Regions from separate parts of the Homo sapiens genome. Here regions 1, 2 and 3 are each linked to region 4. Evidence: promoter capture Hi-C in human tissues and cell types (Jung and others, 2019). All regions are on one chromosome and are shown on one strand. The core of a region is centred on a gene start or on the middle of the fragment in contact, and the rest is flanking DNA. Distances in the headings are between cores, read along the strand shown. Region 1 overlaps POC1A (POC1 centriolar protein A). Region 2 has its middle 15 kb from the start of ALAS1. Region 3 has its middle 12 kb from the start of POC1A. Region 4 holds the start of DNAH1 (dynein axonemal heavy chain 1).

Region 1 (3,016 bases), core at 384-2,883, 170 kb after region 4:
TTGTTTAAGCTTCCTCAGCCTCGGTTTCCTTATCTGTAAAATGGAACAATAATAGCTCCTGCATTGTAAGTTGTCGAGAAGCTTCATGGAGCTGATGCATGACATGTAAGTTAGTCCATAGTCAGCCATGATGACCCTCTGACATCTGTGTTGGCAAAGCACAAACTGGGTCAACAGGGGCCATTTATTATCAAAAACAATTAGGTACTTTCAGTACTACCATTACACATTTTCTTTTTGTTCCTTAAGACAGTTCTGCAAGCTAGGTGCATTTCCATTTTGCAGATGAGGAAATGGGGGCTCAGAACAGTAGTATCTTGTCCCAGAGCACACGGTGGGTCTGTGGCAGAGCTGGAGTTTGAACCCAACTCTCTCTGACAGTAAGGCTTGCCTACTTTCCTCTGGGATGTTCTCAGGGGATGATTTTGCTCCAGAGCTCCCAGATGGGGGCGCAGGCTTCGGAGATGGGGGGCTTAGCCTGGAGGCTAGCCTTCCTGCTGGCCAGGGAGCCAGTGCTGTGCAGACAGCGGGCCAGGTAACCCAAAGGACCTTTCAAGGTCCAAGAATTGCAGACAGATAGTCCTACTTCTAGCTTATTTCATTCCTTTCAACAGAGCTTCCCCATGGGTCAAATATCTTTGCTTCAGAGGAAGGGGTTGGGGTGCCAGGTGACATTAGGAAACCACATGAGTCAGAAGTTGGGGACTATTGAGCTGTGTTCTTCTGGGGACCCCATACAAGTTACTGTTCTCCAGGGCACCCCCATTCCTTTGTCCTGGGAGACCCCTGATGGCTCTTAGAGGCTTTATGACTAGGGTCCTGAGATCAGGAGGGGCCAGGCCAGCAAACTGGGGTGTCAAGTCCATACTGGGCCTTTGGTGGCAGTCCCCAGGACCTCATGCCTTTTGTTGGCAGATTGTGTCTTGCTGACCCGCACTTGAGTCAAATGTAGACTCGGAGGACCTGGTCCCAGAGTAATGACACTGATGGTGAGCTTTTGGCCACCTTTATGCAAATGTTGCCGGCAGGCAGTCGGCTGCATGTTGCCATGTGCTGTGCGTCAGGGGCAGTGCTGGGGCTTTATGTGCATGAGGCTGCTCTGTGCTCACTCGTGAGGCAGGCACCTTTTTTTTTTTCTTTTCTTTTTGTTTATTTATGTTTGGTTTTCCTCTAAGTCAGGAAGAATTTCTCTTTTTCCCTTTTGGTCAGAGTTTGCTGTTGGGATGGGAGAGGGGCTATTTGCTCATGAAGCTACGTAAGAAAACGAAAACAAGAGCAACAGGAAAGATCAATAAGTTTCACAGATTCAGGAAGAAAAAAATAAAGGAAACATTTTTATAACATTTAAAATTAAGTCATAGGCCGAGCTTGAAGGTGCATGTCTGTAATCCTAGCACTTTGGGTGGATGAGGTGGGAGGATCCTTTGACTCCAGGAGTTAGAGGACCAGCCTGGGCAACATAGTGAGACTCCCATCTCTACAATAAAATAAAATAAAATAAAATTAGCTGGGTGTGGTGGTGCACGCCTGTAGTCCCAGCTGCTCAGGAGGCTTAGGTGGGAGGATCTCTTGAGCCCAGGAGGTAGAGGCTGCAGTGAGCTGAGATCACACCACTGCACTCCAGCCTGGGTGACAGAGCAATACCCTGTCTAAAAAACAAAACAAAAACAAAAACAAAATTTAGTCACAGTTTCCTGAAAAACTCTTCAGAAGGAAAAAAGAAAAATGATGTGCTAAAAGTTAACTATTTTCAGAAACAAAGTATAATTTAAGATATGACCAAATAAACAGAAGTAACATTGCCTCCTAGGATGCAATGCATTTGTTCCTGAAAAGACAAATTAGGGTATTCAAATTAAAAAAAAAAAAATCACAGCAGGGCATGTGACCCCGGGTGGTTCCTGCAGGCAGATAGTAGGCACTCGGGGAAGAGTGGCTGTGGAAGAAGGTGTGTGGTGCCCATGTCGTCTGTTAGTCTGTGATGTGACTTGTGCCCCACCCGGTTCAGGTTCTCCCCCGACGGGCGGCTCATCGTGTCTGCCAGTGATGACAAGACTGTTAAGCTGTGGGACAAGAGCAGCCGGGAATGTGTCCACTCGTATTGTGAGCATGGCGGGTGAGTCCCCAGATGCTGTCCTCCACCTGTAGGCGCTCAAGCACAGAGCACAGACCTGGGCATGAGGAGGCCCAGTGGCCTTCAGTGGCTGGAGCCGTGGGACCAGCAGCCTTATCACTGCTGCCCCTTGTCTGGTGCTTTTTGCGAGGTCTGGCAACCTAGCATTGTATCTTTTGCTGTGTGGATGGAAGCTTTGGCCCCATCCCACAAATAGCAGGAGTGCTTAACCTCAAGCCATGCAATTCTTTGGAGCTGTGTAATTATTTGTGCTCCTCTTTTTCTCCTTCACTTTCTGGTTGTCAGGATTACAACATGTCTGTCTGGCAGCAGTTGACACTCAGTCGCCCAAACTACATTTTAAAGCCTCTTGGTATGTTATCCATGATGATGGCTTTACAAAATTCTTGTTGGGTTCTTGTAGCAGATGGTGGCTGTTCATATTGTGCCACATCATCAGGAGAGAGAGGTGCCTACATTTGAGTAGAGACCCCAGCTTCTGCCCTTCTTTGTTGGGCTGGGAGCCACAAGGGCTTCTCCTTGAGAGGTGGACATGGTACCAGCCTGGGTATCACATATGGGTGTGGTGAGGGTCCTTGGCCTGTCTCCTAGAAAGGGGTGGGCCAATGGCCCTGTAGTCCTGCTGGACCTTCCCACCTGTGCCTCAGCTGGCAGGATCTGCCCTGCAGCCACCCCTGGGAAGGGTACCAGCTCCAACTTTGAAAATCCCAGGGGAGCCTGGCTAACTTTTGGGTTTGAAGATAGCTCTCTCAACTTGTATTGAAAATTGGCGGTGGGATGTGCTCCCTGGTCAGTCCACCTTAGTTTGTTGCTGGCCACTGTTCTCACCTTTTACTTCTTCTTGCTCTCCCTTGGCCACCTGGTAAACAAGTGTGACAGAAA
Region 2 (3,031 bases), core at 263-2,762, 130 kb after region 4:
CACCCTGAAGGTCTCTCAAATACATGCAGAATCCCAGGCCCACAGCTGCCCAGGGTCACAAACACCCTTTCACACATGGCCACATGGCCAACCACTCTGGTCATAGGGATAGCAGCACCTTGTGACAGTTAGATACATGGTGTAGTCACAGCGTGCCTCGGGGGCTGTGACCTTGTCACAGAGGCACACATGTGCAGCCATGGTGTGCCATGATTGGGACGTCATCATACATAGGGTCACACACACGGGCTGAGCTGTGCAGGGCCGCAGGGTTGCTCTGCTTCACCCCTCACCTCCACCTCCCTACCGCAAGTGCAGCCTGGCTCCCTGGGATCGTGATCCCTTCCCCTGCGCTCATTCCTGATGAAGTCAGGACTATCAAGAGCCCCTGACTGGCCCTCCCTCTGCCTGCCTCCTCTGTGGCCATCCTGCTCAGGTCTGTCCCGATGGCTCTGTACACCCCTGAGAACTATTAAACTGACCAGAGCGTGGACCAGGGAGATCCCAAGGGCATGAGAGCCAAGCTGTGTGACCATAACAGTCATGTCTTGTTTCTGGACCTCAGATTCTCCACCTGTTTTTAAAAAAAATGTTATTGATGTATAATAGTTGTACATATTCTCCATCTGTTAATACAGGCATAGACCTGGTGGTTTCAAGGCTCTTCTGGCACCCGTGATGAGGAAAGCTGTGATTCTGTGGCCCCTCTGGCATTTCCTGGACCTTCGGGCTTCTGAGTCTATTTGAACTTCATGGCCAGGTGCCTCTCACTAATGAAAGGGCCTCCACTGAGATTTCCTTGGGAACAAAGGAGAGCTCAGTTGTTCTTGAGGCCTCAAAGGGGCCCCTGAGGCAGGCCTGATGCCCGGCTGTGTGCAAGGACCAGAGGAGTGGCTGCCCAGCCTGGAGGCAGGTGCTGGCTGGACTGACCTCCTGGGACCCACTTAAGCTTTCTACAAACAACACATCATCTGGGCTGAGTGGGGGGTTCTCGGGGCAAAAAAAAAAAAAAAAGTCTTCTACGGAAGCTGCCTTGTGACTTGGCCCTGAGCTCAGGCAGGGTGGGGACCCTGAGCACCAGAGAGGTCATTGTTCCGTGAAAGCCAAGGCGGCAACCCCTCCCTCTTCCCCTTCTTGTGCTTGGAACCTCCAGACCCCTGGACTCCCAGGGGAGCCCAGGGAGTCAGTGTATGAGGTGCTGAAGCCAAGTCCTTCCAGAGCTTGGGGGAAGGTCAGTTGGTTTATAAATCACCTGAATTTCATCAGGGTCACCATGGGGGAGCTTCATGCATTTTTCAAAGGGCAGTTGTTGGGTGGTCACTCTGTGTTAGGCGCAGTGTAGGAGCCTGGAGAAATAAACCAAAATGTACCTGAAGTAGCATTTTTCAGTGTGGTCTATGTTCATGAAGTGGTCTCTGGAAAAAATATTCCATAGTCAAGTAAGTTAAGAAAGGGTATTATATAATTCACTTGGCCTGAGCAAAGGTGACCTGGTTTCTTTTTCGTGGGATTTGGAGAAGCTTTAAAAGGCAGTGTGTTTAGGCTGGGCTTGGTGGCTCAAGCCTGTAATCCCAGCGCTTTGGGAGGCCGAGGTGGGTGGATCGCCTAAGGTCAGGAGTTCAAGACCAGCCTGGCCAACATGGTGAAACCCATCTCTACTAAAAATACAAAAATTAGCTGAGCATGTGATGGCGGGCGCCTGTAATCCCAGCTACTCAGGAGGCTGAGGCAGGAGAATCGCTTGAACCTGGGAGGCAGAGGTTGCAGTGAGCCAAGATGGCGCTACTGTACTCCAGCCTGGGTGACAGAGCAAGACTCAGTCTCAAAAAAGAGAGAAAAAACAAAAAAAAAGCTGTGTGTTGAGAGAACTTAGGGGGTGTGAGTGCAGGAGCCTCATTTCCCACATGCAGCTGACCACAGAACTCATTCTGCTCATAGCAGCTATCTGGTGGGGTCTGGTGGGGTTGGAGTTCTCCAGGAGCCCTGCAGCAAGGCTGCTGGAGGGGTATAAGCCATCCCTGGAGGGCTCCTGTGACGCCATCTCTGTGCCCTGCCCCTGGTGTCCTGATTTAGCAGGGCGCCTGAGAATCTGCATTTCTGCAAGTTCTCAGGTGCTGCTGTTGGACCACACTTGGAAAACCACTGATCTATCTCAGAGCAGCCAGAGTGATCTTTTAAAAGCTAAGCTGCGTGAAGTTCCTTCTCTGCTCAAAGCACCCCCAGGGCTCACTGTCACTCAAGGTAGAAGCCAAGTTCTTACAGGAGTCCACAAGGCCCACCGACCTCTTTGACATTCACTCACAACTCACTTTTCTGTCCCTTAAACCCACCCTGCAAATCCTCAAGAGCACCTCAGGCCTTTGCTCCCTTCTGCCCATAATGGTCCTGCCCCAGATGTTGGTGGGGCAACCTGTTCCCATCCCCCAATTCCTCCACCCCTACTCTTGTACCCCTGCCTGCCCTGGCAGGGCAGCCTGTTGGTCACATTCATAGATGCACGCCCTGAATATCTCTCAGATACACATAATCTCAGGCCCACAGGTGCCCAGAGTCACAAACACCTAAGCAGCTGGGCTCTCACACAGGAGGACACAGAGGGGGCTTTCTGGTCCCATATACATCTAGCACCTCGGGAAGGGGTTGAGAGGGAGCTGAGGTGTCCAGGCTGGGGCACAGGGGAGTGACTCTGTGGGCAGCTGTGTGCTCTGTCACTGGTTCCATGAACCTTATCAGCGCTGCCCTCATCCTAACCCCGGAGCACTCTGTGTTCTTGATGCATCTGCACAGAGGTCACGGCAGCACAGATGAACTTAGCTCACCCAGCTGCCCACAGTGACCCCGATAAGCTTGCAAGGCATCCTGTGGCAGAAACCAGAAGGTTCTGAGTTGGGCAGGAAATAGGGCCAAGCCTGTCTTCTCCACCCCAACCTCCATTGGCCCTGACCTGGCTTGGGGATGACCCTGGTGGGTAGCTGGGGGGGAAAGGTTTAGCTTAGGCCTGTCTGACTGCCAGATGCATGGGTGTTATGGA
Region 3 (3,390 bases), core at 757-3,256, 150 kb after region 4:
CAACTCATAACTGGGAGTATTATACCCAGAAGGCTTTGCTATGAGGTATCATTATCCTATCAGTAATTTTTTTCTTCTAATTTCACAGGAAGCAGGAAATTATTTACGGTTGGAGTGGATGCAAAGGTGACACATAATAGCTTAGAAGGCTAAGTCCCTTGTTTTACCAGCTGTTTAGGCATCTTTGTACCCATCCTTGATTTGGAGAGTCTGACCTTGACCAAATTCTATCCCTCAAAACTGGCCCTTACAATCTCACGTTATCTGCCTCTTCCATGACAGTCCCTGGGCCTAGAGGGAGGGTGCTTGTATAGTTGAAGCGGTGTCATTGTCTGGGGAAATACCCGAGGTTCGTTGAGAACAAAGACGTGGAGACACACACACAAGCGTGCACACAGAGTGGATTTAAGAGTGGACAGTTTAATAGGCAAAAGAAAGAAGAGAGAGCTTCCTTGTTCAGAGTAAGGGGGTGCCCAAGTGGGCTTCCGGGCTTGGGGCAAGACGCGGTTGATTTTACAGACAGGCTTGACAAGGCAGTGTTTGATTTACATAGGACCCCGGGAATTGGTTTGACCAGGTGTTCTATTTGCATAGCCTGAGAAGAGACTGGCCATCCCACCTTAATCTTTTATTATGCAAATGGGCCTTTACCTGGCCAGCGCCATGACACCTGCTGAGGTGGGTGGATCACCTGAGGTTAGGAGTTCAAGATCAGCTTGGCCAACATGGTGAAACTCCGTTTCTACTAAAGATACAAAAAATTAGCCGGGTGTAGTGGTGCACGCCTGTTAATCCCAGCTACTTGGGAGGCTGAGGCAGGAAAATCGCTTGAATCCGTGAGGCAGAGGTTGCAGTGGGCCGAGATTGCACCATTGCACTCCAGCTTGGGCAACAAGAGCAAAACTCCGCTCAAAAAAAAAAAAGAAAGTTTATTTTGCCAAGGTTAAGGACATGCCTGTGACACAGCCTCAGGAGGTCCTGATGACATGTGCCAAAGGTGGTTGGGGCACAGCTTGGTTTTATACGTTTTAGGGAGACATGAGACATCGATCAGTACTTGTAAGATATACATTGATTTGGTCCAGAAAGGTGGGACAACTCGAAGCAGGGAGGGGGCTTCCAGGTCCTAGGTAGATCAGAGACGAACGATTGCATTCCTTTGAGTTTCTGATTAGCTTTTCACTAAATACACAATTCATTAATATATATGAAAGAAGGGTAGAGGAAATAGTCACTTATGCCTTAGTGCACCTGGCCACTGCGCCCGGCCTCCTTTTCTTTTTAAAATCTTTCGGAGAAAGCATTTTAGAAGAAAATGAGACTCTGGGCCGGGCGCGGTGGCTCCTGCCTGTAATCCCAGGACTTTGGGAGGCTAAGGGGGCGGATCACCTGAGGTCAAGAATTTGAGACTAGCCTGGCCAACATGGTGAAACTCTGTCTCTACTAAAAATACAAAAATTAGCCTGTATATGTGGCACACACCTGTAATCCCAGTTACCTGGGAGGCTGAGGCAGAAGAATTGCTGGAACCCAGGAGGCAGAGGCTGCAATGAGCCGAGATCGTGCCACTGCACTCCAGCCTGGGTGACAAGAGCCAGACTCTGTCTTAAAAAAAAAAAGAAAAGAAAAAGAAAAGAAAAAAGAAGAAAAAGAAAATAAGGCTCTGGTCTCAGGTTTCATCTGATCTCTCATTGGTAGGATGGTTTATTCCTAGAGGGGTAGGTCCCACGTTATTAAGAAAGATCATTTTTAGCAGGCTGTGAAGGCTCATGTCCTACGAAGAGAAAATAGGGGGAGGAAGGGAGAAAAACAACAACAACCGAACAACAACAACAAAAAGAACAATCCTGGAAAACTGATATAGGCCATATTACCCTGAAGTCCATACATTGGTAGGCAGGTATGAAAGTGGCTTATGTATGTAAATAGGTTGCTGCTATTTTGTTCTGAAGTTTAAGTTGTCTAGCTTCAGTTCACAGGGCTTTAAGAAAGCACAGCTTAATTTTCAGTGATTTCAAATCAGAGAAAATAGGGGAAAAAAGGAAAAGAAAGAAGGAAAAAAAAAAAGGAAAGCATTTTGGAGACTTGTAGCCAGGACAAATTTAGAATTCAGTCCAAACTGTAGAAAATAATAAAAATTGAAAAACATTAGGCAAGACTAGAATCTAATAACAAGTGTACTATAGTTTATCTTGAAACATAATTTCTGTCTCTCTAGTCCCCATTTTCACAAAAGACAAATCATGGTAGGATTGATTTGTCTGCAAAAATAAGCTTTAGTCTTATGCTTGGCCTGATTATTTGTATAAAGTGCAGCAAGAATAACTATTTACCACATAGGATCTTTTTGTAATTGGCTTTTATGGAATTTTGTTTTATAAGGAATCTCAGATAAGACTTTTTTAAAGCCTCGAGCCCAGCCCTGAGTTTGTGCAGTCAAATATTAATACCTATGTGAGTTTGGGTAAATTTGTCTACTCTTGAGGTCCCAAGATAACTTGGGGCTCCTAAGCCTGTCAGAAAATGGCATTCTTTACTTACCACAGGTCAGGAACCCTGTACAGGTACTGTATAGACAAGGTGCCAGTTTTCCTTAGGGGCTTTATTGGCTGTATAAGTCAACTTTGATTCCTTAAAGGAGTGTGTTTCTGTCTGAAAGCATGCCATTCCAGTCAAAGCCTTGATAAAGTAACCAGTGTCTCCAACTGTGTCCTGTTACAAAAGAAAACAGATTCTTATTGCACTTACGCAAATAAATATATAGCGTAAGTTAAGAATACTCACAAATAGTTTCCAAATTTGGAAAAAATCAGGTAGAGAGAAATATGTTCCAAATTTTGTTTATAGCAGTACACTTTACTCAATTGTTAAAAGCTGCAAATAGCTCAAAACAGGGCCAGGTGGGGTGGCTCATGCCTGTAATCCCAGAACTTTGGGAGGCTGAGGCAGGCGGATCACTTGAAGCTAGGAGTTCGAGACCAGCCTGGGCAACATGGCAAAACCCCAGCTCTAATAAAAATACAAAAATTGGCCGGCATTGTGGCTTACGCCTGTAATCCCAGCACTTTGGGAGGCAGAGGCGGGCGGCTCACGAGGTCAGGAGATTGAGACCATTCTGGCTAACACAGTGAAACCCCATCTCTACTAAAAATACAAAAACAAAATTAGCCAGGCATGGTGGTGTGTGCCTGTAGTCCCAGCTACTGGGGAGGCTGAGGCGAGAGAATGGCATGAACCTGGGAGGCGGAGCTTGCAGTGAGCCGAGATCGCGCCACTGCACTCCAGCCTGGGCGACATAGCAAGACTCCGTCTCAAAACAAAAAACGAAAAAAACAAAAAAACAAAAATTAGCTGGGTGAGGTGGTGCACCCGTACTCCCAGCTACTTGGG
Region 4 (3,465 bases), core at 322-2,821:
AGTGCGGGGATGCATCAGCCCCGTCTCTAGGGAGGGACGCTAGGCCGTTGCTAAGGGGCGGGGCCATCCGGCACCGCAGGGCGGGAGCTTCCGTCCGCGAACCTCCCCAGCCTGAACCCTTACCTACCCACCAACTCCAGGTCTCGGTTACTTCCGCCCAGGACAGTGGGACTGGGATGTTCCAGCATATGCCCCGATCGGCAGGATTAGGGCCGACCAGGGAGCGTCACTCTTCTAGGCTCCATTACCCACCCATCTTCCCTCCTGTGCCCTTTTAGAGTAAGCAGCGAAACAGCTAAATGCAGCGTGAGAACTTTGATTAAATCCTGATTTAAATACATATACATATGTAAATAATTTGGGGAGGAATAATTGAAGAAATTTACGAACTGGAAGTTGGCATTTAAGCCACAGCTGCGGGACAGCTGGTCAGGGCACTGAGGAAAAGGTGGGTTCTGGTTCTCCTGGGGCTTGGCTCACAAAGCCACACCCACCCATTGCACGGTGACTCCACTCAGGCCGCCGCTTCCGCTGGGCAGCGGATGCGCCCGACACCCCTCGGCTCGGGCGCCCACCCTCTGATGCCCCTCATCTGCTCTCAGCACCTGGCATGGGTTCAGGTTTTGATCTTCCTGCCCTATTCTGAATATTGAATTATTGTTAATTTTCTTAGATGTGATAATGCTACTGTGGTTGTATCAGACTGTCCTTAGTTGACGTGGCCTGAAGTGTTTGAAGAAACACGTCAGAATGTCCGCTACAATTTCCTTTCAAATGGTTCAGCAAAAATTATACATATAGGTAAGCATAGCTAGATAAAAAGACAAAGAGGAGATAAAGCAAAAGTGCTGCAATATAACAATTAGGGAATCTGAAGGTCACAGATGTCCATGTACTAGTCTTCCAATTTTTTCTGTAAGGGAAAGAAGTGGTTTACAAACCAAAAGAACCAAAAGAAAAACATCACCCCATCTGTACCTGAGAACCCCTGCCCACAGCCTTCTCAAAACTGGCCCCATTTCACAGATGGGGAAACAGACTTGCTGAGACGGTTAGTACTAGGGGAGGTCATAGGCCCTGATGTTGAATTTTACTTGGCATTTTAGTCGTGCTGGCTTGGTGCCAGGCCTGTTGCTGGGCACTAAGTGTCTGGAACTGAACTGGACCCTATCCCCACCATAAAGTGTATTGAGTGGGAAAGATGGAGAGGCCAGGCCATGAGGAACCTAGAGGCAGGGTGTAATCTATGCCTGGAGACAGTGGTTCAGCCCTTGCACAGGCTTCTGCTTCCTCTGTCTAGAACCTGTCTCCATCCACTCCTGCATCTGGCGGACTCCTACTCACCCTTCAAGACCTGATGGTGGTGCAACCTTTCCTGAATCCAAACTGTGGTTTTATTTTTCTTGTTGGCATTCACACAGGTACTCAGTGATCACTGCAGAAGGAAGAAAGGACTGTGAGGGGAACTGGAGGCAAGGTGTCCACAGCTCTTAGAAGGGACAAGGACTCCATAGCCCTGTTTAGGGCAGTCTGGCTGCTCAATGGGTCTGCGTATAGGTTGGGTACCCCCCTTGGCCTGTAGAGAGGCACCTGCTTCCCTGCTTTTGCCTGGCACTTCCCACACTAGGTACAGCTGTCCAAAAAGCTGCAGCATCTATCCGGGTTGCCATGGCAACATCAGCCTATGGTGGGATGTCAGGGATGAGAGGGGCAGAATGCTAATCCTGGAAAGTTGCCAAGCAACACAGTGGGCTGGTGACATCACAGGGGCTGTGGCTGCTGGACAGATGGACAGGCCACAGCTGAAAGGGTCCACTCTCAGGAGGCCCAGCTCACAGAACCACTCACTGCTTACCATGTGATGGTCACTGCTGTTTCTCCCAACTGGAGAATGGACTTGAGGGGTGGGGGTCGGGGGTGCTGCTTTTACCAGCAGCCCTGCCAGCTCCACTTCGCCCCTCTTCAAGGGCGGGCTGTGGATATGACTGCCTCCCTCCTCCCTGGAAGGACACCGTGAGTCAGTCCCTGTTCTCCTGGGTCTCAGGGGCTACCCTCTAATGTGCTGTCTTCTCCCATGGCTGCGCAAGGGTTCAGGCTTTGGTCTTCCTGCCCTGTCCTGAAGGCCACCATACTTACCTTGCTCCCTGGGAAAGGAGCAGGGGGCTGAGCCATGACCCACTGGACTCCTGCCCCTCTTGTGATGGGAGGGCCATCTTTTGCCCTGAATAAGCTGGAAGAGAGGTCAGCCTTACCCTTGTTGAAATGGGAGGACTAGGTTTCTACAAGAGTTGGGGAGTCACTGCCCATCTCTTACTCAGATCCCCCTTGCTGAGGACTCTGGTGGCCTGGAAGCTGGGGGATTGGGGCAGATGGGCTGCTTAGGATGCCCTGGCCCAGGGCCATGCCTTTCCAGCATGGAGTCTGAGGTCATGGCAAGTCTGCACACCCCCTCCCCTGTGTCTCCTTGCTGGCTGAGATGGGAGCAATGCTTCACTGGCTGCAGAGATGAAAGCCCCTTGTGAATGGGCAGCAGAATGGGCCCTTCATGTGGCTGGCCAGCCAGAACGGAAGGTGACAGGCATCCAGACTGAGTGGCTGAGCTACCCGCTCCCCACCTGTCCCCAGCCTCCCTCTTGGGCCCCCAGGATCTTCCTCTGATTTTCTAGGCCTGGAGCTCTGAGCTATGCCACAAGAAAGTGAGTTGCAGGCATCGGGGGCGGGGGGTGTCAGAGAAGGGAATGGGTGAGGTCTACGATTCACTGCCTCCCCAGGCCTCCCCGACATAAGCCTCCCTGCCATTGCTCAGCTGCCCTCAGCAGTTCTGACCAGCATAATCATTTCTTTGATGAATAAAAATGGAGAAAATTTAATTCTCCTTTGATCCACATGATCACCTTGACAGACAAGACCTTGAAAGCCCAGAGCTCAAGCAAGGAGTAGAACAGAGTTTCTCCGGGGCTGGTGGACTGAAGACCACTGGCCCATGAACAGACAATCTTCATCCATCACAGCCCCCACCTAATCCCCTGCCCACCTTTACTCCTGTGCAGCCTCCCTGCCGGAGCCTCTTCCCTCTTTGTTTTTCTATGATCTTCCATGCCATCTTGGGCTACTTCTCAGGACACACTCCCTGAGTGCCTTGGCCAACAGAACACACACTCTCCTCAGGGCCCCAGAGGACCATGGTCAGTACCACTTGGTAGATGACTCACTCCCTACCATGTGATGGTCACTGCTGTTTCTCCCAACTGGAGGGTGGACTTGATGGATGGGGTCAGGGGGTGCTGGGGCAGAGGCACAGCTTTTCTCAGCAGCCCTGCCCATGCGTCAGTCCAGGAAAGACCCATAGAAATGACTGGAAGATAGAGCAACCCACATCGGGGCCATCACCTCAAAGATAGTGGCTGTTGACACCAGCCCAGTTGCACATGACCCCACATGATCCCACCCTCACCTCCTCTCCCC

The links. Contacts are between HindIII fragments. The study calls those that stand out against the background at their distance.
Region 1: a fragment that was not itself captured here is called in contact with the fragment with the promoter of DNAH1 in region 4 in 1 of the 25 tissues and cell types used here (spleen).
Region 2: a contact is called between a fragment that was not itself captured here and the fragment with the promoter of DNAH1 in region 4, in 6 of the 25 tissues and cell types used here (dorsolateral prefrontal cortex, heart left ventricle, liver and 3 more).
Region 3: a contact is called between a fragment that was not itself captured here and the fragment with the promoter of DNAH1 in region 4, in 1 of the 25 tissues and cell types used here (IMR-90 fibroblasts).

What each region holds. Positions count from the first base shown.
Region 1 is chr3:52,146,088-52,149,103 of GRCh38, reverse strand. POC1A (POC1 centriolar protein A) reads left to right here. Exons shown (of 11, transcript NM_015426.5): 5 at 2,009-2,116. Among named protein-coding and RNA genes, the nearest start is that of POC1A, 6.8 kb to the left of the region's middle. The HindIII fragment of the contact is 3,176 bases long and covers 46-3,016 here.
Region 2 is chr3:52,182,066-52,185,096 of GRCh38, reverse strand. No RefSeq gene overlaps it. Among named protein-coding and RNA genes, the nearest start is that of ALAS1, 15 kb to the left of the region's middle. RefSeq lists an enhancer at 1-578. The HindIII fragment of the contact is 5,026 bases long and covers 1-3,031 here.
Region 3 is chr3:52,164,571-52,167,960 of GRCh38, reverse strand. No RefSeq gene overlaps it. Among named protein-coding and RNA genes, the nearest start is that of POC1A, 12 kb to the right of the region's middle. The HindIII fragment of the contact is 3,344 bases long and covers 335-3,390 here.
Region 4 is chr3:52,314,425-52,317,889 of GRCh38, reverse strand. DNAH1 (dynein axonemal heavy chain 1) reads right to left here and starts at 1,571. Exons shown (of 78, transcript NM_015512.5): 1 at 1,345-1,571. RefSeq lists a silencer at 1-180 and an enhancer at 119-1,057. The HindIII fragment of the contact is 24,079 bases long and covers 1-3,465 here.